7 separate regions of the Homo sapiens genome follow, and all the other regions are linked to region 1. The links are contacts of gene promoters, found by promoter capture Hi-C in human tissues and cell types (Jung and others, 2019). All regions are on one chromosome and are shown on one strand. Each heading gives the region's core, a stretch centred on a gene start or on the middle of the fragment in contact. The rest is flanking DNA. Distances are from core to core; before and after follow the strand shown. Region 1 holds the start of CTCF (CCCTC-binding factor). Region 2 overlaps DUS2 (dihydrouridine synthase 2). Region 3 holds the start of DPEP3 (dipeptidase 3). Region 4 holds the start of LCAT (lecithin-cholesterol acyltransferase). Region 5 holds the start of EXOC3L1 (exocyst complex component 3 like 1). Region 6 overlaps PSKH1 (protein serine kinase H1). Region 7 overlaps NUTF2 (nuclear transport factor 2).

Evidence for each region. The method cuts DNA at HindIII sites, captures the fragments that hold promoters and counts their contacts. A contact is called where the count stands out against the background at its distance.
Region 2: a fragment that was not itself captured here is called in contact with the fragment with the promoter of CTCF in region 1 in 1 of the 25 tissues and cell types used here (bladder).
Region 3: a contact is called between the fragment with the promoter of DPEP3 here and the fragment with the promoter of CTCF in region 1, in 1 of the 25 tissues and cell types used here (adrenal gland).
Region 4: the fragment with the promoter of LCAT here is called in contact with the fragment with the promoter of CTCF in region 1 in 1 of the 25 tissues and cell types used here (IMR-90 fibroblasts).
Region 5: a contact is called between the fragment with the promoter of EXOC3L1 here and the fragment with the promoter of CTCF in region 1, in 1 of the 25 tissues and cell types used here (spleen).
Region 6: a fragment that was not itself captured here is called in contact with the fragment with the promoter of CTCF in region 1 in 1 of the 25 tissues and cell types used here (spleen).
Region 7: a contact is called between a fragment that was not itself captured here and the fragment with the promoter of CTCF in region 1, in 1 of the 25 tissues and cell types used here (mesenchymal stem cells).

What each region holds. Positions count from the first base shown.
Region 1 is chr16:67,560,569-67,564,121 of GRCh38, forward strand. CTCF (CCCTC-binding factor) reads left to right here and starts at 1,958. Exons shown (of 12, transcript NM_006565.4): 1 at 1,958-2,156. CTCF-DT (CTCF divergent transcript) reads right to left here and starts at 1,741. Exons shown (of 1, transcript NR_158165.1): 1 at 843-1,741. LOC124903703 (a long non-coding RNA gene) reads right to left here and starts at 2,882. Exons shown (of 2, transcript XR_007065094.1): 1 at 2,727-2,882. RefSeq lists enhancers at 1,050-1,099, 1,120-1,169, 2,314-3,176 and silencers at 1,400-2,409, 2,930-3,029. The HindIII fragment of the contact is 9,573 bases long and covers 1-3,553 here.
Region 2 is chr16:68,048,275-68,051,827 of GRCh38, forward strand. It overlaps DUS2 (dihydrouridine synthase 2), which reads left to right. Exons shown (of 17, transcript NM_017803.5): 4 at 1,231-1,276. Among named protein-coding and RNA genes, the nearest start is that of DUS2, 27 kb to the left of the region's middle. The HindIII fragment of the contact is 5,487 bases long and covers 1-3,553 here.
Region 3 is chr16:67,978,713-67,982,265 of GRCh38, forward strand. DPEP3 (dipeptidase 3) reads right to left here and starts at 1,787. Exons shown (of 10, transcript NM_001370198.1): 1 at 1,382-1,787; 2 at 927-1,053. The coding sequence starts at 1,668. RefSeq lists an enhancer at 1,111-1,611. The HindIII fragment of the contact is 8,829 bases long and covers 1-3,553 here.
Region 4 is chr16:67,942,870-67,946,422 of GRCh38, forward strand. LCAT (lecithin-cholesterol acyltransferase) reads right to left here and starts at 1,251. Exons shown (of 6, transcript NM_000229.2): 1 at 1,079-1,251; 2 at 187-343; 3 at 1-107. The coding sequence starts at 1,232. It overlaps SLC12A4 (solute carrier family 12 member 4), which reads right to left. Exons shown (of 24, transcript NM_005072.5): 19 at 3,302-3,471; 20 at 3,082-3,213; 21 at 2,895-3,002; 22 at 2,500-2,684; 23 at 2,218-2,351; 24 at 605-2,062. The coding sequence ends at 1,971. RefSeq lists an enhancer at 1-382. The HindIII fragment of the contact is 35,269 bases long and covers 1-3,553 here.
Region 5 is chr16:67,188,607-67,192,159 of GRCh38, forward strand. EXOC3L1 (exocyst complex component 3 like 1) reads right to left here and starts at 1,530. Exons shown (of 14, transcript NM_178516.4): 1 at 1,365-1,530; 2 at 1,025-1,077; 3 at 414-574; 4 at 115-334. The coding sequence starts at 1,070. E2F4 (E2F transcription factor 4) reads left to right here and starts at 3,549. Exons shown (of 10, transcript NM_001950.4): 1 at 3,549-3,553. RefSeq lists enhancers at 3,272-3,553, 3,371-3,510. The HindIII fragment of the contact is 11,498 bases long and covers 483-3,553 here.
Region 6 is chr16:67,921,408-67,924,960 of GRCh38, forward strand. The region is part of intron 2 of PSKH1 (protein serine kinase H1); the gene reads left to right. Among named protein-coding and RNA genes, the nearest start is that of CTRL, 8.7 kb to the right of the region's middle. The HindIII fragment of the contact is 5,571 bases long and covers 1-3,553 here.
Region 7 is chr16:67,859,933-67,863,485 of GRCh38, forward strand. The region is part of intron 1 of NUTF2 (nuclear transport factor 2); the gene reads left to right. Among named protein-coding and RNA genes, the nearest start is that of EDC4, 11 kb to the right of the region's middle. The HindIII fragment of the contact is 3,954 bases long and covers 1-3,491 here.

The sequences.
Region 1 (3,553 bases), core at 708-3,207:
TTTTATTTATTATTATTTTTTGAGATGGAGTCCCGCTTTGTTGCCCAGGCTGGAGTGCTGTGGCCCAATCTTGGCTCTCTGCAACCTCTGCCTCCCGGGTTCAAGCAATTCTCCTGCCTCAGCCTCCCCAGTAGCTTGGATTACAGGCGCGCGATACCATGCCCAACTAATTTTTGTATTTTTAGTAGAGACCGGGTTTCACCATATTGGCCAGGCTGGTCTCGAACTCCTGACCTCAGGTGATCCACCTGCCTTGGCCTCCCAAAGTGCTAGGATAACAGGCGTGAGCCACTGCGCCCGGCCCCTACTATCTTTTAAAAGATTTCTTTCTATATCTATCCCCAAACTTATCTGGTCCCTTCACAGCAAAACCTCTCTCAAATTGCATACATGTGCTGTCTCCATTTCCTCACTTTCCTGGTGACTGTTTAACCCATTCCGGTCAGGTCCACCTCCCTGATATACTCACGTGAATCAAGCCAAGGCCATCAGTGACATTCTCCAGTGACTTGCAAGGTGACCCAATCCAATAGCCACATCTCTGGCCCAAGTTTATCACACCGCTCAGCTGATGCCTCCTACCTGAAACCTTCTCTGCCCAGGGATTCCACAACTCAGCGCTAGCTTTCATGACTTCCTAGATGCTGCCTTTCAGACTCCTTCTCCATTACCCTCCCAATATTGGAGTGCCCCAGGATTTGGCCATGGAATTTCTCTTCACTCTTTCCTCCAAGCCAAGCCAGGGGTCGTAAACTGACAGCTCATCTGTGTGGTTTAATCAGCTCATGAAGTTTAAAAACATCTGATTCAGTTGCTAACATCTAAAAACTCTGGAGATTTGACATCTTAAAAATACAGATTTTTTTATTCCTTTAGGGGAAAAAAAAAGAGTATGTTATTGGGCCAGCATTCTCACAACGGAACGGTCAGATGGATGGAGAAGAAGCTGCTCCCTAGATATTGGGTCCATTTGATATCTAAGGGAAGAGTCATATTCCCTGTAAGTACCAAAAGGCTCTCATCCCAGAGCCACCAGCACCTTGCAGTCAGTTCTTGGTCAACTTGACTGCAGGTTGGGAAGGGTCCGCAGGCGCCTCCTGGGGAGGGGTGGGACTGAAGGTCTCCGCCCACAGAGAACAGCTCTCCCGCAAAGACAAGAAATGCACGTTTCCACAGAATTACACAGCGCTAAATACAGAAACTCCTTTCAGTAAAAAGCGATTGCTATGAACGTGTTAAAGCATCAAGTCTGGTTTTCCGCCACCTCTCCGGGCTGAGGTGGCCTGGGGACACCAAGAGGAGGCCCTCCCACTCTCCTCTCGCACCCGCTTTTAGGTGGCCCTCTTCTAGGGCGGAGAGATCACCAAAAGCCGCTGAGCAAGGACAGCCCTTCCAGTCGTCGCTCGCGGGCACGGAGCTGGGAGCGCGCGGGAACCGACCGGGCCTTACTCTGGGGCGGGCAGCTGTAAGACATTCGGAGGGCGGGTCGGGCCTGGCTGGGGCGGAGACTGGGCGGGGCCGGGCCCGGGAGCCTCCTCAGCCCCACTGGCTTGCCCCGCGCGCGCTTCCTCCAGCCACCCCCACTTCCCCAACCCTGTACGGGTTCAGGGGGCCGGAGACAGCAGCTAGGGAATAAGGTCAAGCGGACTGGATCCGGCACCGCCCAGGGGCGGCGGCCTCCGCCCAGGAAGCCCCACCCAGCGGGAGCCAGGACGCCGCGGCGCCGGCAGAGCCCACGAGCGACCCGGCGAGGGCGCGTGCGGCGTGACGACGCGACTCGCGGCGCGTCCCGTGACGCCATCGCGCCCGCTTTTGAAAGTTGGCGCCCGGGGCCGCCTCCCATGCTGCCCTGCGCCAACCCCTCCCCTCACCTTTCCTCCCCCGCCCTCTACTCGCCGCCCGGCCGGTCCCCCCACCCGTCCCTTCCCTTATCAGCACCCGCGGCCCCGGCAGCGCCGACGCAGGCGCACTGCACCGCGCCGCCGCCATTTTGTGTCTGAGCCTGTGGAGCGATTAAACCGTGCGCGGAGCTGCTTCTTTGGCGGCAGCGGCGGCGGCGGTGGCCGGTGCGGACGCGCGGAGCTCGCCGGAGACGCCGGGTGGCCGGAGCCGTGGAGCGGCGGCGGAGCGGGCGCCGCGGGGGGTGTGGCGCGGAGGTAAGGGGGCCCGGGGTGGAGGAGGTTTCGCGGGCCGCCTCTAGGTGTCACGATGGGGCCGCTCCGGTCGGCGCTGGCTGCAGCCCGGCGCCAGCGCCGCCGCCGGGGGGTGTTTGTCTCCCTCTACCGTCCCTGCTGCGGCGCGGCCGCCGCCATTGCCCGTCGCCGCCGTGGCCCGGCCGCCCCCCCCACCCCCACGCCCGCCCGCCCGCCCGCCCGCTAGGCCTCCCTCCTGGCAGCGCGCTAGGCCTCGGGCGGCGGCAGAGGCAGAGGCCCGCGCGCCCGGCGACTCCATTTTCCTTCCTTTGTCTGCCCTCGAGGCCGGTTCTTGGCCGGCCGATCGCCCGGCCGCGGCCCGCCCTCTGTCCTGTGTCCTCCGCCCCTCCCGCGGCGGGTGGCCCCAGCTGAGACACTATCTCCGCGTCCCGGCTTCGGCGCCCGCCTAGCTTAAGGGTTCGGACCGACTGCCGCCGCGCGCTAAGCCAGGTCCCGGTGCCGTATGGGTGTCGGGCCCTGGCCGTCGCGTCTCGGGCTGCCCCTCCTCCAGCCAGCCCCGTCCCCGGAACCTACCCTGCCGGCCTGCGTGCCTTCCCAGCTGCTTGGCTGCTCGGCGGTCGCTCCCAGTCCGCGCGTCGCCGCCGCTGGTCTCCGTCTCCGCCGAGTGGCGCAGGCGGCGCTGCAGCGGCTGCGAGCAGAGGGACCCCAGAGCTGCCGAGAGCTCCCTCTGCAAGGCTGGCTGAGCTGCTCGCACCTCTACGCTGCCTGAGCGGGCGGGGGGACGCGCGCTCGCCGCCCCCGCTGCGCCCCCAAACTCGCGCCCGGGTTCCTGGCCGGACCCGACCGGTGCGGCCCCCCCACGGTGGGCGGAAAAGATGCGAGTTCCGCACCAAGTAGTTTTTATCCAGCCGGGTTCGGACTCCCCAGCCGAGTGATAGCAGCCTGACTTTGTGCGCTCAGAGATCTCAAAGGGACTGAAACTTAAATTTCATTCTGATCTCAAGTGACGTGACAAATTTCTGAATTTGGGAGTATGGGCTAAGTCCCTTGAGTTTCCCTCCCGCTTTAAAATGTCCTCACACTAACTTAGTACCTGATGCTCTAGGGCTAGGTGAAGGCGGTTCTGCCCCAGGATTGTGCAACTCGATCTAGAGCGCCAGTAGGGCAGAATGAGTTTATTCTTGACTCGACTGGTAATTTGCCCATGCGATGAAATATGAGGGTTGATGTTGTAATTGAATCCTGGGTCACTTGCTGCAGATGGTTTATAAATATCTACGCCTAATGTAACTACTGTTTAGTAGGAGACTTCCTGTAGCCCCGAGTTCAGCGTTAAGTAAACATTCGCATACGTAGTCTTCATACTTTGAGTTTCGATCAACTAGGAAAGTTAAAAACCA
Region 2 (3,553 bases), core at 365-2,864, 490 kb after region 1:
TTCCTGTTCTAGTCCCTACCAAAGCTCAGTTTGGCTACTGAATTTCTTTTTATAAGCACAGGCCATTCAGTGCTTCCTACTTGTCTACTTGCCTTCCCCTGCAACTAGGATCACTGGCTACTGGGGCTCTGAGTTGGGCTCTGCCCATCCCTTGGGATGCCACACTGATTCTTGGGGGTTGGATGTCAACCATGTCCAAACTGCTTAGTTGTGGTGATTTGTTTGTTCAGGCCTAGTGGTCATCAGATATTTGATGACCTGAATACTGCATGGAGAGAATGGCCACAGAAACACCTAGAGCATTTGTTAATCTGATGGTGGGTATGCTGCGGGAAGTCCCATGGATACTATGAGGATTCTTTGGCCATTGTCCCTAGGTACTCCGATGAGTGAGTAGGAGGTCATTGTGCCCACTTGGCTGGGGTTGTGACTTGCTGGGGCTCATAGGGAGTCAGTATGGGGGTTAGTACCAGGAGTAAGCACCTCTTCTTTTCTTTTCTGGACCCCCAGAATCCATGGGCATGAACTTCTGGGCAGTGTGACAGGTGTCTGCTGAACAAAGCAGAACAGTCTTGTCTCCAACTAAGAATTAGAGAATCTCAGTCCTCCAGCACATAGGAGGTTTTCTTCCATTTATGATGTGATTTTGAAGAACCCCCCTTTTTCTTTCTTTCCTTAGTCTGTTTGAGTATCTCCAGAGTTGGGGACCTCGCCCTTTTCATTTCCACATAGTGTGACCCATGTGGGATAGGGGTTTTAGACTTTTCTTTCCTGTGTTCATCTCAGATCTTCCTCCCTTTGCTTCTATTCTCTGGTTCCAGTTTTGTTTTTGGATGTTTCTTGGGAGCCCTTCACTGCCTGCCCTTTGCTGAGGGATAGGTGGGATATTCTTTGATGGGGTGGGCTTCTGCTGAGACCAGTAGGTGAGGAAATTTTCCAAGTGAATACATCCTGAATGATTATTGTCTTTCTGGCTAAGTGGTTCATTCATTCTAGGCCCCAACCATCTCCAAGTTTCCTGGGAAGGACAGCTAATTGAGAGTAGCTCACTCTGGCTCCTGCTTGCCATGCTTGGGTGGGGAGAATAGCACTACATGTCCCAAAAGCCGTGGTTTGTTCTTGGTAGTAGGGCGACTGGCCAAGCGATCCTCATTAGGTGTGTGATGAAAATCCTTCATGCCCAGAGCCTACATGTTCAGGAATGACAAGCGTCCTCTGATTCCTCTGCAGGAGCTGATCGACCTCAAGATGATTCAGTGCAAGAGAGTTGTTAATGGTGAGTACAGATCTGGCTCCAGAATTATGCATATGCCCTGCTGGGCTCAAGCAGCACTACCACTGCCCTTGCCTGGGGTGACAGTGTCTTGCCTGGCTTCATTGAGTAATTCTATAGATCACATGCTCCCTTGAGAGCAGTCACTGATCTCCAGAGGCCATGACAAAAAGCCTGATGTGAAACAGGCTGAGAGTGCCTTTCACTCACAGGCTTGCTGGCATAGAAATCACCATGCATCATAGCATAGGAGGGACTCTAGGAGCCTTGGAGTCAGGATGGCTTTAGCATTGGCCCTGGCTTGGCCACTTGCTAGATGTGTGACCTTGGGCAGGCCATATGACCTCTGTCTGCCTTAGTTCCTTTATCTGTAAAATGAAATCATAGTCTTTGCTTTACTTCAATCATAGGGTTGGAGTGAGGACCAAATAAGATAAGGTACATGTAAGTACTGTGGACGCCCTATGCTCTGTGCAAATGTGATTGTGATGAATTGTAGTTTTGCTGATACTTTATTGATGAGGCTGATTCTGCTTTGATTAGAGTTGTGGTATATTCCTTGAGTTTTCTGATACATACGTATATGCTTGTGAAATCTTTTTTTTTTTGAGACGGAATCTCCCTCTGTTGCCTAGGCTTGAGTGCAACGGCGCGGTCTTGGTTCACTGCAACCTCTGCCTCCCAGGTTCAAGCAGTTCTCCTGCCTCAGCCTCCCGAGTAGCTGGGACTACAGGTGCCCGCCACCACACCCGGCTAATTTTTGTATTTTTAGTAGAGAAGGGGTTTCACCATGGCGGCCAGTCTGGTCTTGAACTCTTGACCTCGTGATCCGCCTGCCTTGGCCTCCCAAAGTGCTGGAATTACAGGTGTGAGCCACCATGCCTGGCCGAACTATTTTAAATGTGTATATTTTTTTCTGTGTGATAAAAAATTCAATATTATAGATCTGTGTAACCTAGAAAATGAAAATCCTCCATAATCCTACACCTAAAGAGGTAATCAGAGAGAGGAATAATGTATGTTTTTCTATACATATAGTAAATAATGTGTGTGTACAAAATATGACGTGTTTATATATATCCCTCTTCTAGGTTGAAGATAAGGAAAAAAAATGTATCTATATCTATATCTGTATCTATATCTATATCTATATTTATCTATCTCCCCACCCCATTTGATCATACAACACGTGTTGTTTTGCCATTTACTTATCTACTAGGTCATTTGCCCATGTCAGTACCTAGGGGCAACTATGTCAGAATTGATTTTACCAGAGCCTTAACAGGGGTTCCCAGTATTTTGCTGTTATAAACAGAGTTGCATTATAAACACACAAATATTTTGTGGTTCTTCTCTCATACTTCTTACTGCCAGTCATGAGCTGTCTCTGTCAGTGATCACTTTGATTACCTCTCTCAACATGTCATTGCCTTTATCCCACCCTAAAAACCTTCTCATCTGTTTAGTGCTGGATGATAATAAAACCATCCATGTATGGAAATACTTTAAGTGCATCAAAGATCTCATTTATTTCTCAAGACAGCCTTTGAGGTAGGCATATTCTCCCATCTGCCACGTTCAGTCTTTTTCATGTATAGTGATCTTTGAAAGCTAGTAATGGTAGCACCTATTGTGGAGCTTCTTTAGGAAGCTGACAGATAAAATACAGTTGCTTCTCATTATGCACCGTTGTTGTTTCTATAAAGTTGCTTTAAACATCAAATGAGCGGATACTGAACCATTGACCCTGGGGTAAACAAAGGGTTAGGTTTGTGCAAGCCTCTGGTCATATTTTCATCAACTTGTCAGTCCATAACTTTGTTTTATGTGTGTTTCTTTGTTTTTGTTTGGTTTCTTTTTTGTGACCAGGTCTCACTCTGTTGCTCAGGCTGGAGTGTACTGGTGTGACCATAGCTCGCTGCAGCCTCAAACTCCTGGGCTCAAATGATCATCCTGCCTCAGCCTTCCAAGTAGCTGGGATTTCAGGTGCACACCTCCATGCCCAGCCAATTTTTAAATTTTTTGTAGAGATGGGGGTCTTGCTATGTTCCCCAGCTGGTCTCAAACTCCTGGCCTCAAGTGATCCCCCTGCCTCAGCCTCCCAAAATACTGGGATTACAGGACTTAGCCATCACACTGGCCATGTGTTTCTGTTTAAAGGCATATTATTTAATATATACCATTGATTCACTTAACATTGAACCCACTAACATGGGTAATAGTGCTATAATTTCATGCCGAAACAAAGCTTATTCAAGATGTGTATTTTCTCTGTAAGTC
Region 3 (3,553 bases), core at 537-3,036, 420 kb after region 1:
CCCATTTGGGTCAGTGGCCCCAAGTGAGGCACTACATGACTCCATGGTACCTTGATGACTTTTTTTAAAATTATTTTTTATTTTTATTTTAAAATTTGAGACAGGGTCTTGCTCTGTCACCCAGGCTAGAGTGCAGTGGTGTGATCATGGCTCACTGCAGCCTTGACCCCCCAGGCTCAAACAATCCTCCTGCCTCAGCCTCCCAAAGTGTTGGCATTACAGATGTGAACTACCGAGCCTGGTTCCTTGATGACTGTTTGCTGCCAGCAGTCAAATGATGGACTCACGACACATCATAAATTACTGTTACGGCCAGGCCAAGTGGCTCATGCCTGTAATCTCCACACTGTGGGAGGCCGAGGAGGGTGGATCATGTGAGGTCAGGAGTTCGAGACCAGCCTGGCCAACATGGTAAAACCCTGTCTCTACTAAAACTACAAAAATTAGCAGGGCGTGGTGGCGAGTGCCTGTAATCCCAGCTACTCAGGAGGCTGAGGCAGGGAGAATTGCTTGAACCCGGGAGGCGGAGGTTGCAGTGAACCGAGATCGTGCCACTGTACTCCAGCCTGGGCGACAGAAGGAGACACTGTCTCAAAAATGCAAACAAACAAACAAGCAAAAAACTGCTGTTAGTCCATGTGCTATGTGAATGCCCCAAGGCCAATCCACTATGTCCTTTGTGGTTACGGCAGACCCCACACTCACCAGGGATTTTCTGGTCATTTTCTGCGTGTTTCCACAGAACCTGGGCATACATGCAGCTAGCCTGTCTTGGCCTCCAAGGCCCCACTCTCCTTAGAAACCACATGATGGCACACTGCATGCCCCATTGTATTTAGTCACCCAGAGGCTGGCTGACCCAGGTTTCTGTGACCCCAACATCCCCCAGCAGCCATGCTGTGGCACCCTGTGTGTCCCTGTGGTACCTGGGCACCCACGAGGCCGTCTCTAAGCCTGTCCAGGCTGGTCTGACCATGGCTGAAATTTCGCAGGTTAACATCCTGAAGCACATTCTTGTAACGCTGTCTCAGGACCTGGGGCAGGTCATTGTGGCTGGGGGTGTGAAGGTCAGATGGAAACACCGCCTCCAGATCAGTCAGGATATATCAGGTGCTTGGGTCTACCCTCCTCCACCCCACCAGGCACCTCCTCACACAGACCATATAGAGACCTCCTGAGGTTGGGTTGGAGGGAGGGGGTTAGATTCCACCAGGAATGGAGTAATGCGGGGAAGGGCACCCATGGGTGATGGAGGAGAGAGGGCATCCAGGGGTGGTGTGAGGGAGCCTCCTTGATAGCCTCCTTGATAGCATGCTCAGAACCTCCTCTCCTGCCCAAGGGTGTGCTCACCCCGCGTTGCCCAAACGCTGCACCTACATACCCGTCCACGAGTGGGAAACTCCGCATCAGGGCCTGCGCGCGACCCCGAAGGTCCAGGGTTTTGGGGGTGCCTGGCGTAGTGAGGCCTGGGGTAGTGAGGGCGCTGGGGACACCCGGCGTGGTGAAGAGGCTGGGGGAGCCCAGCGTGGAGAGGGCTCTGGGGGCGCCCGGCGTGGTCTCCGCGCGGGTTACGGGCTGCCGCAGCAGCAGCAGCAGTAGCAGGAGCAGCAGACGCCGCAGATACCGCCGGCTGAGCGCGCGGGAACCCTCGCGGCCCGTGGGCTGCATGTTGCGCGGGGGTCGGCCGCGGGAGCCTGGGAGGAGCAGGCGATGGGCAGAGGCCGACAATGGGGTCCGGATCATGACGACCCAGCCTCCCGAAGAGGGGGTTGAAGTCACGCGACTCTGAGACCGACGCGCCACGCAAGGGGGCGCCACGGCTTTTCCGCCCCCAAGCAGGAGAGCGCCCCCATGGGCCGGAACCGCCGCTGCAGCGTCGAGGACTCCTCGCCCTTCCACCCCCAGCGCTGGCTCCGTAGACCCCCACACGAGTGGGGGAGGAGGCCAGGCAGGGAACTAGTAGGGGCCCAGGGATCTTCCTGATCTCACCTCCTACCCAGGCCCACGTGGCGGTTAGCTGCCGGCTTGTGCCCAGCTCCTAGGCAGGTCAAATATTCTAAGCTGCGACTCAGAAGAGTTAATTCGGTCTGTCTGGTTTGATGGACAGAAAGATTCCCTATAGGTATTTCATTTCATTTCATTTCATTTCATTTCATTTCATTATTTCATTTCATCTCATTTCAGTTTTGAGACGGAGTTTGGGTCTTGTTGCCCAGGCTGGAGTGCAATGATGCAGTCTCGGCTCACTGCAACCTCCACGTCCCGGGTTCAAGCCATTTTCCTGCCTCAGCCTCCCGAGTAGCTGGGATTACAGGTGCCCGCCACCATGCCCAGCTAATTTTTGTATTTTCAGTAGAGATGGGGTTTTACCATGTTGGCCAGGCTGGCCTTGAACTCCTGACCTCAAGTGATCCTCCTGCCTCGACCTCCCAAAGTGCTGGGATTACAGGCGTGAGCCACCGTGCCCGGCCCCGAAAATGAAATTTAAGAACAATTTTTGTTGGGGATCATTATTTTAGCTTTTTTTCCTTCTCCAAGAGACAGAGTATCTGTCACCCAGGCTGGAGTTGCAGTGGGGTGATCATAGCTTGCTGCAGCCTTGATCATAGCTTGCTGCAGCCTTGAACTTCTGAGCTCAAGCGATCCTCCTTCCTCCACCTCCCAAGTAGCTGAGACTATAGGTGCAGTGCCACCATGCATGGCTAATTGTTATTTTTTATTTTATTAAAACAAATTTTTTTTTGAGACAGGGTCTCACTGGAGTGCAGTGGCACCATCTCAGCTCACTGTAGCCTCGACCTCCCAGGTAAAAGTGATCCTCCTGCTTCAGCTCCCTAAGTAGCTGGGAGGGACTACAGGCATGCACCACCATGCCCAGCTAATTTTTGTATATTTGCATTTTTTTTTAGAGACAGGGTTTTACCATGTTGCCCAGACTGGTCTTGAACTCCTGAGCTCAAGCGATCTGCCCACCTAGGTCTCCCAAAGTGCTAGGATTACAGGCATGAGCCACCACGTCCGGCCTTATTTCTTTTTTAGAGACGTGGTTTTTTTTTTGAGACGGAGTCTCACTGTGCCACCCAGGCTGGAGTGCAGTGGCTCCATCTCTGCTCACTGCAAGCTCCGCCTCCCGGGTTCATGCCAGTCTCCTGCCTCAGCCTCCCGAGTAGCTGGGACTACAGGCGCCCACCACCATGCCCAGCTAATTTTTTGTATTTTTAGTAGAGACCGGGTTTCACCGTGTTAGCCAGGATGGTCTTGATCTCCTGACCTCGTGATCCGCCCACCTTGGCCTCCCAAAGTTCCGGGATTACAGGCGTGAGCCACCGCACCGGGCCGAATATTTTTTTCTATATATATGTTAGTATACAGACACAAAAATGAGAGGTGACAGCGTGCTGGCAGCCCTCACAGCCCTCGCTCCCTCTCGGCACCTCCTCGGCCTTGGCGCCCACTCTGGCCGCGTTTGAGGAGCCCTTCAGCCCGTCGCTGCACTGTGGGAGCCCCTTTCTGGGCTGGACAAGGCTGGAGCCGGCTCCCTCAGCTTGCGGGT
Region 4 (3,553 bases), core at 1-2,500, 380 kb after region 1:
TGCTGCTGTCCAGGTACTCCACAGAGTAGGTCTTGCCAAAGCCAGGGACGCGGATCTGGACACCAGGGGCGTTGGACACGAGCCCAGAGCTCCGGTTGTAGACAACCCTGCGGGGCGGGGGTGCCACTCAGCAGCCAGTAGCCAAGGGGCAGCGTGTTGGGGCTAGGGTGGAGCACATGGCTGTACCTGGTGTTATCGATCCAGCAGTCTACCCCAAGGGGTAGGAACATGTTGAGATCCAGCCAGATGGTGAAGAAGTCCTCTGTCTTGCGGTAGCACATCCAGTTCACCACATCTGGTTTGTCCAGCTTGGCTTCTAGCTGATTCCCCAGGCAGCCGGGCACTGTGAGCAGCAGCCCTCACTCTGGACTCTGGATTCCCCCCGTGACCCTTACCCCCGTCACCCCAGATGCTGCAGTGACCAGACCCACCCCCCACCTCCCATACCCTCAACCCCCAGGTACAAAGCACACTTACCCTCCCCTGCTTACACCCCCTCTCCCTGCTGTCCCCCCAGTAGCCAAAGCCCAGGCTTCCCTGAGGAAGGGAAGGCGCTGAGGTGCTGAGGCCAAGGCCGCTGACCCCTGCCTCTGCAGAGCAAACACCCAGTCTGGCGCTCCTTTATTGCCAAAGTCCAAGGTGGGAACAGATAGGTCTGGGGGCATGGGGGCTGGGCCTAATAGGGGCCGGGCATGGATGGGCCTCTCCTGCTCACCGATCCTGGGCTGGGCATCTTGTCCTTGGTGGGTGGGGGCCAAGGAAGGAGTGGTGGGGCTTGGCCCAGAGTCTGGTGTGGCTGTGACTGACCACAGCTTGTGATGCCCCAGCCAAGACCTCAGGCACACCCCGTCCCCCACTCCGCCCCCCCTGGGTTAGACAACTGAGAGTCACAGTGTGGTGGGAGAAGGGACGTCATTCCTCTAAGGGACAAGCTTTTGGCCCCTCCCCACACCAGGGCAGGTACTTATGTCGGGGCTTATGCAGGGCAGAAGGGCTTTGGCCAGGTCAGCTGCCAGGGGCTGGGGCCCAGGCTCCCCAGGGTCTGGCGTGGTGCATCAGGGGCCTGGTGGGGGCTTACCGAGGATGACGGGCCGTGTGTGGTTACTGAGCTCAGCCTTGGGCGTGGTGTGCGGGGGGAAGAGCACATTGAGGAGCCAGAAGGGGGCGGCAGGAGGGAGCAGCAGCCCCAGCAGCAGCGTCACCCACTGCCATGGGGAGCCGGGCGGCCCCATTCCAGCCCTGGTGCCTACTGCCAGAGAAAGCGGCACTGGGCTGTCCTTATCTGGTGTGGGAGTGGGAGGGGCCCTAGGGCCAGTGGGAGGGACGGCCTGGCCAGTGGGGGTTGTGGCCAGAGATTGCCGGAAAGGGGCACAGCCTCAGGGAGCCGGCTCTGGGCCTGGGTTCAGTTCCGCCTTCTTCTCTTGGCGCCAGGGGAAACAGAGCCGGGGCAGCAGGAGGCCCAGAACTACACAATGTTTTATTGAAAAAGTCAGGCCTCAGCTCAGCTGTCTCCATTCGGCTCAGCTTGGTGGGGGGCCCTGCCCATAGTAGACTGAGCCAGATCTTCCTGCAGGCAGCTGGGCTGGACTCCCTCCCTGGCTACCCTTCCCTTCGTCTCTGATGGTGACATCCAAACAATAAATATGCAATAAATAGCGCTCCTGGGCTGGGCCGGGCCGGCTGCCTTCAAACCCCACTCGGCCCCTACCAGTCTTCTCTGGCCAGGACAGGCCTACTGGGGTGCTAGATAGTAAAGTCCCCAAACATCCCAGGGTCCCACAAGACCTGGGATCCATCTCCATTTTGAGGCCCAGGCCTGGTTTCCAAGGAGACCTAGCAAAGCTGGGTCCAGGACAGGGCCAGGCAAGCAGGGCTGGCAGGTGGGTGCTGGGAAGAGGCTGTTACCCCAGACCACAGCTTGTTATGTCCTGGCCAAGACCTCGACTCCAGGCCACAAGATGACACTGGGCTCAGGAGTAGATGGTGATGACTTCACGGCCACCACCGCGCACCAACAGCACCCGCTCAAGGCCCTCGGTCAGCACCTCGAGGAACTCCATGTCTGCAGGGCCTCAAGTCAAGGAGGCAACAACAGAATCAACGGGCAACCCGGGCCACCTGGGCCATGCCCACCCAGGGGTGCCCAGGAGAGAAGCCGCTGGCTTGACCTCCCATGCTATCCACCTCCCAACTGCCTGCCTCTCCACAAAGGGATACAGTTCTCGTCGCCCTCACTGTTCCTGGGTGGGCCAGGCATGTTTAGGAGAACCAGGCGGGCGTCGTGGGAGCGCGTGACAATGACTTCATTGAGCTTCACAGCAGTGTGCATGCGCCGCACATTGGATTGGTCCCTACACGTAGTGTAGCCAGTCACAGGTCGCCATGAGCCATCCTGCAAGGAGGGTCCCCACCCCTGGCCCATCTAACACTACTTGTCTGCCCCACCCCACCTCCACCCCTAGATTCCAGTGCCGCTGGGGCTGTTTTTGCTGCACTCACGGCTTAATGTGCACCAGCTCCCGGAAATTGTCAGGGGCATGGCTGGGGTCCCAGGTCTCAGTCATGTACTTGTCCCTGGTCCACGTCATCTGGATCTTGTCAGCCCCCACTGCAGACTCATCTTCCTCGTCCGAGTACAGGCTCTCCAGCCGCAGGGCCGAGTGCCGATCCTTGACCAGCTGGGCCTGAGGACAATTGCAGGAGATAGCCTTGGTCCCATAGGAAAAGGGGGATGGGGCCTGTCTGGCCCAATGTGACCACCTTGCCTCCGGGAAATGAGCACTAGCTTGGGTAGGGCTGCGGTGAGTCATTCTGATTCCTCCGCACCCACCGATGCGGTCTCCAAAGGCCTGACCCTGCCACCCGCCCTGGCGTGAACCACAAAGGGCACTGACTTCTCGCTCCCGCTCAGTCTTGGTCAGTCTCATCTGCCGCAGCATCTGCGACCGCTGCTCCATCATCAGCGTCCGCTCGTAGGTGTATGCAGAGATGTCACTGTTATGCTGGGGACAGGGTTGGCCGTGAGGACCCAGCTGCACGGGACATGGTATCCACGGGGCCAGGGCAGGGCAGAGGGCTCACCATCTCCACCACCTCCACCTCGGCCTCAAGGCGCAGATGGTACAGAAAGACAGCCAGGTCCTTCTTCATCTGGATGCTGTTGTCATCCATCTGGGCCACTGTGAAGATGCGCATCCGGCACTTCCTCCAGACCTGAGGCAAGGGACCAGGTGGGCGGTTTGGTCACAGCTGCTCCTCCAAGGGCCTAGCCCCTCTCATCTGCACCCACCCCCTGGTCTACCTTATGCTGGCGCAGCAGGAAGGGCAGAAGCATGAGCATGCCACCATCGTGCACGATCCACCACACGTCTATGTGGCCCTCCAGGTAGCGCTCGTGGTTGCTGGGGTAGAAGGCGATGTTCTTGGGCACGAGCAGGGCCAGGTGGGCAGCCGTAGTGCAGCGCACGGTGTCTGGGGAGGAGGAGCACGGCTGACCACCAGTCTGTGGCCCTCCGCCCACTGCCACCTCACTTCACCCCTGCCCACCAGGCCC
Region 5 (3,553 bases), core at 280-2,779, 370 kb before region 1:
CCCTGGTGTGCTGCTCTATGCAGTTCCCCATCTAGTGCCCCAGCCCCTTGATTAGGGATGGGTGTTTGTGGACTGACTATTGGAGGCTGAGGCCCAGGGTCCCTGCATGCTCACCTGCCCGCAGCCGAGGCAGCAGGTGAGACAGGGCCTGCAGTTGCTTGTGCTGGGCAACCCGCTCCCGTAGGGGCTCTAGAGTCTGTAAGGCCTGGGACATGCCCTGGAGCAACCCACGGGCCTGGCTCAGGGCCTCCCGGGTTCCCTGCACCACCTCAATGGCCTGGGCCAGCTGCCACACACCAGTCTGCACGCCTTCCAGGTATGACTGCATCACTGACTGTGGAAAGATGGAGCCATGAGGCTGGGCCAGCCCTGCAGCACAGTCCCAGCACCCGCACCCCCTGCCCCATGCCCACCTTGAGGCGCGATTCCAGGGAGCAGGTACGCTGCACCTCGCGGCTGCGGTACTGGCCTAGCCTGGCCAGCTGCTCCGGCCGGTAGAAGATGCCTGAGGCCCACTTGAGCGCTGCACCCCGGGCCAGCTGCTCTGCCCGCTCCTGCTCTGGCCACTCAGGTCCTGGGAAGGAAGAGCCTGGGCAGCCGTGTAGTCAGGGAGGAGGGCCCAACGACCCCAGTCCCAGCTTTCTTATTTATTTATTTATTTATTTATTTGTTTGTTTATTTGTTTATTGAGATGGAGTCTCGCTCTGTTGCCCAGGCTGGAGTGCAGTGGTGCAATCTCGGGTCCCTGTAACCTCCGCCTCCCGGGTTCAAGCGATTCTCCTGCCTCAGTCTCCCGAGGAGCTGGGATTACAGGCGCGTGCCATCACGCCCAGCTAGTTTTTGTATTTTTAGTAGAGACGGGGTTTCACTATGTTGGCCAGGTTGGTTTGGAGCTCCTGACCTCAGGTCATCTGCCCATCTTGACCTCCCAAAGTGTTGGGATTACAGGCGTGAGCCACTGCGCCCAGCCAGTCCCATCTTTGTTGCCATCATTCCTCCCCTAGTCCACCCAAAAGGTTCATACCAGGGGACAACGCCGGCTGCATCTCATCCTTGGCTGCTGAGTCCATTGTGGGCCTGGAGGAGCCAGAGCTGAGGTGGGCCCGGGGCAAGCAGGCAGAGTAGATGCCCCTGTGAGCTGCTGCCTCTGTCTAAGCCCTTCTGAGAGGAGGAAGGAGGTTCTTCCCGGCCCCCTCGGGAAGTGAGAGGGAGCGGGTGTGATGCGGAGGGCACCTGGGAGGCTTTGCCTGCTAGGTTTCCCAGTCGTGCCCCTGCAGATGTCAAGCGAGACAGAGTGGGCACAGGCCTCCACTGGACCCTGGTCCTGCTCTGAGCTGCACAGGACAGTTTGGTACAGAACTTACCAGATTTGATCAGGCGTCCAGTTCTCCCTCCAAAAATGACCTTGGCCTTGAGAACAGCCCTCTCCCCAATGCAGCTGGGCACGCCTGCCACTTGCTCACAGGGCCTGGGCAACTCCAGCTGACTCCAGCGTGCAGCTGAATTCCTCTCCCCAAGGAAGTCTCTCTCCCACTCCCCACCCAGAAGCCCCTTCTTCCCACCGAGGCTCCTCCCTCCCCAAGGCCATCAACAGAAAGGAAGGAAGCTGAGTCTCTGGCATTTTATTCCCAACAGGAAAGAGTGTCTGCACAGAGGGTGGGGACAGCTGGGCGACACTTCCCTGAGGGGCGGGGGGGTGGGGTGTACTTGTACTCAACCAGTCTTGACCAGCCTACCCAGAACCTCTTAGTGCTCAGGAGAGGAGATAGGGATTTGCTAGACTTGGCCTCAACCTGGGGTGGTGGGCAGAGTGTGCAGATATGGATGCAGACGACATCAACAGCACAGGATGAAAACTGTGTTGGCCAGCCTCTGAGGAGGATGTGTACCTCTGCGGAGGAGTGAGAGGTGGCAGGCTCTTGTGAAGAGGGGTGTGGTGGGGGGTGGTAGGAGAGGGTCATGAAAGCTGTGTTTATCTTTTTTGTTTTAGACAGGGTCTTGATCTGTCACCAAGGCTGGAGTACAGTGGCACCACCATAGCTCACTGCAGCCTTCTGGGCTCAAGCGATCTGCCTGCCTCAGCCTCCCAAAGTGTTGGGAGATTACAGGCGTGAGTCACCGCAACTGGGCAGCTGTGTTTATCTTGAGAGTTATAGGGAGCCAGGGAAGGGACTATAAGGTGGTAATTATTTAGTGGATGTTCAGTCCACCACCCAAATCCACCCTTCAGGACAGAAGTGCTCATTCTCCAGCTGCCAGGAGTGTAGGCTACTGAGATCACACCACTGAGTCTCTCAGTCAATATTGGGGTGCAAAAGCATGGTACCATCGTGTGAACATGAACCCTTCAGAAGTGCTACCCCAATTTCAGAGATCCTAGTGGGATAGGCTGAGGCCTATAATATAATTGCATCTGCTCAATTCTGCTTGTCTTAATCCCTTAAAGGTGTGGATCCTGACCAGGTGCGGTGGCTCACACCGGTCATCCCAGCATTCTGGGAGGCTGAGGTGGGAGGATCTCTTGAGCCCACGAGTTCAAGACTAGCCTGGGCAATATAGTGAGACCCACATCTCTAAAAAACTAAAAATAAATGAGCCGGGCATGGTGGTGCATGCCTGTGGTCCCAGCTACTTGGGAGGCTGAGGTGGGAGAATCGCTTGGGCCCAGGAAGCTGAGACGGCATTGATCTTGCCACTGCACTCCGGCCTGGGCAACAGAGTGAGACCCTGTCTCAAAAAAAAAAAGTGTGGATCCCCAACAAACTTGCTGCAAAACCCTATCTCGAGTCCCATTTCCCAGAGGACCTGATCTAAAAGAAACAATAATAAATAGTAACAATGTTAAAAGTTACAAAATGACCGTATCACACATTCCTGCATGCCAGGAATGACTGAGTGCTTTACTGATATTTACACATAGGTAAACACGTTTGCATTGGCTGAAGTGTTCATAACCCCATAGTCTCTGAGCACTGTACTGTGAGGACAAGACGAGCGAAAGATGAGGCTAGGACCATGGGTGGAACAAGGTGGACAAGGTAGATATAGTTAGTGCTTGCTGTTTGGCAGGAAGTGAGGGATAGGAATAGATGGGGTGACCCCAAGACAGTAGGGCAGCCTTTAGGAACAGGTTTGATGTGGCAGTAAAATGAGTTTGAAATATATAAAAGAATAAATAAAGAGAAAAAAATGGAAAAGGAACAGGTTTGAGGGAGCAGATTGGATTAGTCAGGTAGTGTGGTCTCCTCTCCCAAGATGGGGACTAGGCAGAGTTAGTGATGTTGGGGCAGATTGGCAAGGAAAGTTCCGATGGCGTCCCCTTCTCTACTGCCAGGGCGGCCCACTGACGCCCTTCTCATTCCTCCCCAACTTCATCCCAACTCCCCGGTCTACCCAGGTAGTTTTCGTCTTATTCGGAGGCTGGACATTTGCTACTGGTCCCTGAAGTTTTGCGGCTGCACCCACAGACAGCAATAGCGCCACGTTCCCTGGAAGGCGCACGGGACGGAAGCGGAAGCAGTAACGCTGGCTCCGGCTGCCCGGCGGCCAGGAA
Region 6 (3,553 bases), core at 1,054-3,553, 360 kb after region 1:
TACTAAAAATACAAAAAATTAACCAGGCATGGTGGCATGCACCTGTAGTCCCATCTACTTGGGAGGCCGAGGCAGGAGAATCGGTTGAACCTGGGAGGCGGAGTTGCAGTTAGCTGAGATTGCACATCGCGCCACTGCACTCCAGCCTGGGTGACAGAGTGAGACTCTGTCTCTCTTAAAAAAAAAAACAAAAACAAAAATCAAAAAACCAGGCTGGGCCCTGGGAACCACTTGGCCTCAGCGGAACCCTTGATGAGTGTAGATAAAAGAGATCACGCTGCAGCAGGCTTCTAAATCTGGAACCTTCCAGGGCTACTCCAGGACATTGTTAAAAGCAGACATCGCTATGTTGGTGGCACAGGCCTATTGCAAAGCGAGCAAATAGCATCCTTCTCGATCTTGAGTTGTGTCCTGTCTCTCTCCTCTCCTTCCCCTCCACTCTGGCTCTGGGCAGGGACAGGTGGGGGCACACGATTTCATTTTGTTATCCATTTCAAGTTTCAGAACACAGCTTTACTAACCTTTAAGTTGTCACACCTTTTCTCATTTTAATCTTTATTCTCTGCTTTTTTTTTTTTAATTCTCTACTTGTTTTTAAAACTGCATTATCTTCCCTCTATTTCTCTCCTCAGGCTCTCTCCCCCCACACCCTTCCCTTTTCTGTTGCTTGCCCCTCACCCGCCCTCTGCCGAGTCCCAGGGTGGTAGATTCTGTCTGGTCTGGAAGCCCAGGCACCAGGATGATGGGTTTTTGACCACAGGAGGGGATGCTGGCTCTGCTGCCACACAGTGTCTAATTCTGCTGATGCTCTTCGTCGTGGGCAGCATGACAGGGTGCCGTTCTTGTTGTCATGCTGCTTTCCTGAGTAAACTCAAAGCTCTGTTTCCAGAATTTCCTCTGTGCCCTTTTCTCTGCTCTCATTCAGGCCCACGTAAGTACAGAAAGGAGGCCTTTGAAGGTGGGAATAGTGGGTCTGAAAATACATCTTGAAATAGAGCTGAGGGAAGAACTGAGTCATGGTAGCAAAGCCCAGGCTTCTTCCTCCCTTCCCATCCCTTCTCTAGAAGCACTGTGGTGGGGCCACCTCCTCTGTCAGCCAGCCTGCCCCAGAATCATCATTGGTTAGATAAGGAACCCAGGGCTCAAGAGGTCAGCTTAAATGCTAAACTCTGCGCTTCACATGTGGCCACGTGAAGGAAAAGGTGGAGAAAAAGGAATCCAGGAGTTTATAAACTGGAAGGGACTTAGAGTTCATGACATTCAGCCCCTTCCTCGTGTTAAAAGTGAAGGCGGTGTGATTTCTCTAAGGCCGACAGAGAAGGTAGAACTAGAACTCAGGTTGCTGGGCTTGCAATCTAACCCTTTAACGTATCCCAGATGCCACTCAGAAGACACACCAAGGGGCCTTTCTCTCCCAGCCTCACTTGCCAGTAGGCAGCCCTGCCTGCCAGAGGAAGTCTAGGGCCGCCCTGTAAGCTGTGTTTGCTGCCAGAAAGAAGCAGCTTCCTCCTCTGTCTGCAGCCTCTGCTAGAGAGCTGGCGCTGTTCTTTGTTTCATTAGCCCTTAGGCTCCAGGTGAGACCGCTGGCAGTGGCTTGGGTAGTGTTCATGCCAGGCCCTTGTGCCAGACATTAGAGCTAGAGCAAACGAAAAGGGTTGGTGCGGGGGGTCCTCAGGCGGGAGCGGAAAGCCCTTCCTGCTGTGCTGCCTCTCCCTCTCCAGGGGGAGTAGGACTCCACTGCCTAGGAGTGGCTTTGGCCCAGCATGGGTAGGGGGATGAGGAAGGCTAGTTGGTAAGGAGGTGCTCACGGAAGAGGTCGCTTCCCATACCCATTATTGGCATCTTTGCTGTTCCAACATCAGGAGCAGGTACCCTAACTGCAAGGGGAAAAGGACTCTTTTGAGGGCCATGGACTCAGGAGGAAGGCAGCCAGCTTGATGGTCAGAATCAGAGCAGAGGTGATGCCCTCCTCCTACAGCCCCTGCTTGTCTTCCTCTTGAAGCAGGACCCAGCCCTCACTCACGCAGCAGTGTCTCGAAGTGCTGGGATTAGAGGTGTGAGCCACTGACTTGCCCAGAGACTGTGGAAAGGAGAGAGTGGAGGCTGTCACCCTGGGTATGGAAGCTGTTCTCTGATCCCAGAGCAAGGGAAGACCTGAGAGTCTGGGCGTAGAGCCAGCTGACATCTTAGTGTTTCCCTCTGTGCCTCGTGCTCCACGTCGGCCCAGAAGCAGGTGGAAGCCTCAGAGACTGCCCAGGTGGGTCTTGGCACCTGTGCCATCTGTCAGCCAACTGAGGCCATGTGTGTCCCTGGTATGGCTCAAATAAGTATACTGAGGCACGAGTTCAGTTCTTCACCTAGAACAAACAGAGTTGTGGAGACTGAAGAGCATGACTATTCATCATTTTCCCTTTTCTCCTGCTTAGAATGCTTCCCAGCCAGTCAGCCCTTGGCTGACACACATACTTACGTGGCTCCAGGGGAAGCAGGTGGGTTGGGCTGCTGGCGTTGAGTGCTTTCTTAGGAGGTGCTGAGTTGATGTGAGGCCTGAAGCCTGGCTGTGGGCGAGTGTGGAAAGCCTTACTTTTCTAAGCCCTGTGGGAGGCCTCAGCAGGGCTTCCAGAGGCTGCTATTCTGAAGGTCACCCTAAGCCCCTGCCTCACTGTCAGCTGGATGAGGACCACCTTCTTGTGTTCAGCCTGACTTTCCTCTGTGTACAAGGGTTAGGCTGGGGACCAGTTCAGGACGACTTGAGTCACTTTGGCTTGGGGGACCCACCTGGCCTAGCTGCTCACAGCTCTTCAAAGATGGGAAGAGCTGGGACCTGCCAGAGAGGCCAGGCCAGCCCTCAGACAAATGAGTCCATCTGCATTCTGCGCACAGCCACATGCCCACAGTAATTGGTGAGGCGAGAATCTTGGGGAGCAGCGGGGAGAGGGATCAATCTGGCTCGCTTTGGCACTAACAGGCCGGCCGCTCCATGAGCAGCAGGGGTTGATGCCTGCTGGTGTGAGCCTGTGCCACTCTGAAGATGGAGACACTTAAGACCATAGGGCTGGTCTGGGGAGAGGCCCCTCCAAGACTGCACTGGTGACTGGTTTGGAGTTTCAGGTCCACGGTTTCGCTGGGTGTGGATGTGAAGTGGTGAAACCTCCAGTCCATCCATGTTCAGGCTCCTGGCCTCTGTAGGGGAGTTGCCCCTCTTTTGTCTTGGCTGGACCAAGGGGCAGGGGCAGAATCCATTTCCCAGCCCTGTTGGGACACCCTGGGCTGTCAGCCCTGTCTTGGGGCTGTTCCAGCAACAGGCCAGACTGAGCTGCAGCCTGCTTCCTAGTGAGTCCTCCTCTTCCTGGAGACTGTAGAAGGCCAGCAGGCAGCAGAGGTGTCCCCTGACCCACTCTGTTCAGCTGTGTGTGTGCTGTCTCCATCAAGCTTCTTTCTGTCTCTCCGGTGGGTGATGGGGGCTACAGTGAATGTCTGTGGTCTGGACTGGCTGCCCCCAGTAGTGGTTCCTTGTGTTCAGGAGGCAACCATGGAGCTTTCTTTTTTAAAA
Region 7 (3,553 bases), core at 265-2,764, 300 kb after region 1:
GCTGGGATTACAGGTGTACACCACCATGGCCAGATATTTTATTATTTTTTTTTTTCTTTTTTTTTGAGATGGAGTCTGGCTGTGTTGCCCAGGCTGGAGTGCAGTGGTGCAATCTCCACTCACTGCAAGCTCCGCCTCCTGGGTTCACGCCATTCTGCTGCCTCAGCCTCCCAAGTAGCTGGGACTACAGGTGTCTGCCACCACGCCCAGCTAATTTTTTGTATTTTTAGTAGAGACGGGGTTTCACCATGTTAGCCAGGATGGTCTTGATCTCCTGACCCTGTGATCCGCCCACCTTGGCCTCCCAAAGTGCTGGAATTACAGGTGTGAGCCATCATGCCCAGCCTTTTTGTTTGTTCTGAGGCAGAGTCTTGCCCTGTCACTCAGGGTGGATTGCAGTGGTAAGTTCACAGCTCACTGTAGCCTGGACCTCCCAGGCTCAGGTGATCTTCCCACCTCAGCCTCCTGAGTAGCTGAGACTAAAGGAGTGAACCACCATGCCCGGCTAATTTTTAAAATTTTTTGTAGATATGGGGCTTTGTTGCTGAGGCTGGTCTGGAACTCCTGGACTCAAGTGATCCTCCTGCGTGGGCCTCCCAAAGTGCTGAGATTACAGATGTGAGCTACTATGCCCAGCCTTGGGCCTGAGGGGTTTAAGCCATGTTGGCTATCAGTTTCCCTGTTGGAGGAGTCCTTTCCAGGCTGTGCCTCAAGGCTGTGTTTTTGGCCTCCGTGATAGCATGTGTGGAGGATAGCCACGACTGGTACCAATTTTGGGGCCCTCACTGTAGGCCATGCAAATCTGCTGGCATTCCCTGTGGGCTTCAGCAGACACATGAGAATCTTTCTGTGTGCCAGTCTGGAAGGAGTGATAGCGTCTTCTCGATCACTCTCCTGCCTCAGGCTAGGATCTCTGTCTGCTCTGTCTGCTTTGCTGAGATGGTAGAACAGGGTTGTGACCTCGAAGGTTTGAGAAAGCTGACATCATCCTCCATGAAAACTCCTGTTGTTTGGACTCTAGGTTTGATGTGGAACTCTTCTGCCTGAGGCCTTTGTTTGGAGGTGGAAGCCCTGGTTCAGGACTGCCTTGCCCCTTTCTGAGAGAGCCAGGCTCAGAGGAGTGCTCTCACTGATGTAGTCTGTTCTTGTCTCCAGGCCCACGTTGTCACTAGAAGTCCTGACTCTGGAGAGGCCTCCAAATCTGGTCAGTCCAATTCCACCACCTATCAGCTGCTGACCTAGAGCGAGTTGGAGTTGGCTAACCTCGCTGAATCTCCTTTTGGTCATCTCTAACAAGGGGGTTGACTCACAGGGTGTGGTTACAAACAAGTGCACATAAGCTCTTTGCACATTTCTGTGCCTCATATGCATTAGTGAAAATGAAGTGTTCACAGCCAGACAGTTATTTTGAGTTTTGTTCTTGGAAACACTTAAAATTGGAAGATAAAAATGGAGTTTTTCTGTTGTCTAACGGGATCTCCTGGGTCAGAGGTTTTAACCTGGGATCTATGGCTGAACAGTTGAAAATTATTCACAAGGCTGGGGCATCTCTACCTCTGTGCAAATGTGTTGGGAGAGGGCCACAGTTGCTGAGACATTCTTGGAGGGTCTTTGCACTCACAGAGACCTAAGGGTCAGTGAAGGCTGGTGTTCAGTGGGTGAGAGGTCATCAGAGTCTTTTCTGCTCCTCAAGGAGCCTGGCCTCAGCCTGCGGACTGTTGGGGTGAAGCAGGAGATGGTGTGGTCAGCGGCCCTCTCACAAGAGCTGTAGGAGAAGCTGTCATGATGGTCAGTCCCCAGTCTAATGTGAGGCTGCCTCTGAGCCCGGGCTTTTTTGTTTCCAGCCTGTTACTTGCACAGTAAATGTGTTAGAAACAAGATCAGAGCTTGCTGGCTATTCTGGGGAACATCTTCCAGCCTGGCCTGGACCCCTCCCTCATGTTGCATGGGGATAGGATGGGGGCTCTGCACTCTTGCTTCTTTTTTTGGACTCAAGAGTGTTGCCTCCCGTGGGAAGGGTGGGGATCGCAGGAGGGGACTTTCCTGTGTACAAAACATGGTGAGCAGGCTCTCGGTAGGTTCTGTTGTGTCTGTATGTAGCTGGATCGAGGTAGGAGGGAATGGCTTAGGGAGATGGGGATGAGGGTGGATGGCCACCTGTGGAGCTTAGGGAGTTTGGCCTTTAAGCCAAAAGCAAGGGTGTTTGTAGGGGAGGAGCATGGTCAGCTTTGTGGTTTAGAGCTCAGGGATGCAGAGTTAGCAGAAAAAAGAGACGGGCCTTGACCAGAGGACCCAGTGTCAGCACTGATGTACCAGGTGAGCTTAGGGCAAGACCCAGCGACATCACTGGATGACAGTGGATTCTGACTATGTGGCTGTTGTGATCACTACTTGGAAATAAACACAAGACAGTGAAGCAGGCCTCAATCCCACATAGTTTTGAAGGTTCCTTGTCATTTTCTGGGAGCCCCTGATGTGTCCTATTCCTCAGAGAGCTTACTCTTCCCCACTCTTCTCTGCCCTACCAGGCCAAAGGGTCTTTCTCTTCCTTTATCCCTCCACCCCATTTCCTTCCACCACCACTTCAGTCAAGGAGTTTTTGTATCAGAAAGTTATCACAGGCCAGTTATGGTGGTGCACGCCTGTAATCCCAGCACTTTGGGAGGCCAAGCTGGGTGGATCACTTGAGCTCAGGAGTTTGAGACCAGCCTGAGCAATATGGTGAAGCCTGGTCTCTACAGAAAACACAAAAAGCAGCCAGACGTGGTGGTGCTTGCCTGGAGTCTCAGCTCCTTGGGAGGTTGAAGTGGGAGGATTGCTTGAGTCCTGGAGGTCAAGGCTACAGGGAGATGAGATGGCATCACTGTACCCTGACCTGGGGGACAGAGCGAGACCCTTTTCATGCCCCGGGACATTTGCTGGTGCTGTTTCTTCTGGTTGGCATACCCTTTCTGAGGACTGCCCAACTTTGCTCTGAGCCAAGGGTAGAAGGAGATGTGGCCCTTATCCATTCCTCCAGCTTTTCCCCTACCCTCAGAGCTCTTAGGCAGTGGGTATGGCACCTTGGAAGCTGCAGCAGGGTCAGGGCACATTGAGTGACTAAGCATAGCAAGTACCAGGTGGACGGGGCAGAAATGCCAGAGGTGGGAGCTGTGCTCTGCCTTAGGTCCTCTAAGTTTGTGTGTGAGTACAGCCAGTGTCTGACCTCTTGGAAATGTGACCAAGACCACAGTGAAGACTAGATGATGGTCCTGTGCTTTCCCCACTTGTTGATTTCTTTCTTGGCAGAGTATGAACTAGGACACACCTTGTGTTCCTGTGTGGCAGGCGTGACTGGATCCAAGCTTTCTCCCCTGCTTGCTTTAGATTTTCCTGGACATTTCTTAGTCATCCCAGCACTGAGCTTCTATTTTTAGTGCCACTACCTCCTAGGGGACCTAAAATAAAGCTGGCTTAGCTTCCTGCTCCCTCATTGGCTTGAGTGTTGGTCACAGAGCGGAGGATTGGCTGCGTTCTCACTCTTTCCCTACACGATTCCTCCCCGCTGGCTCCT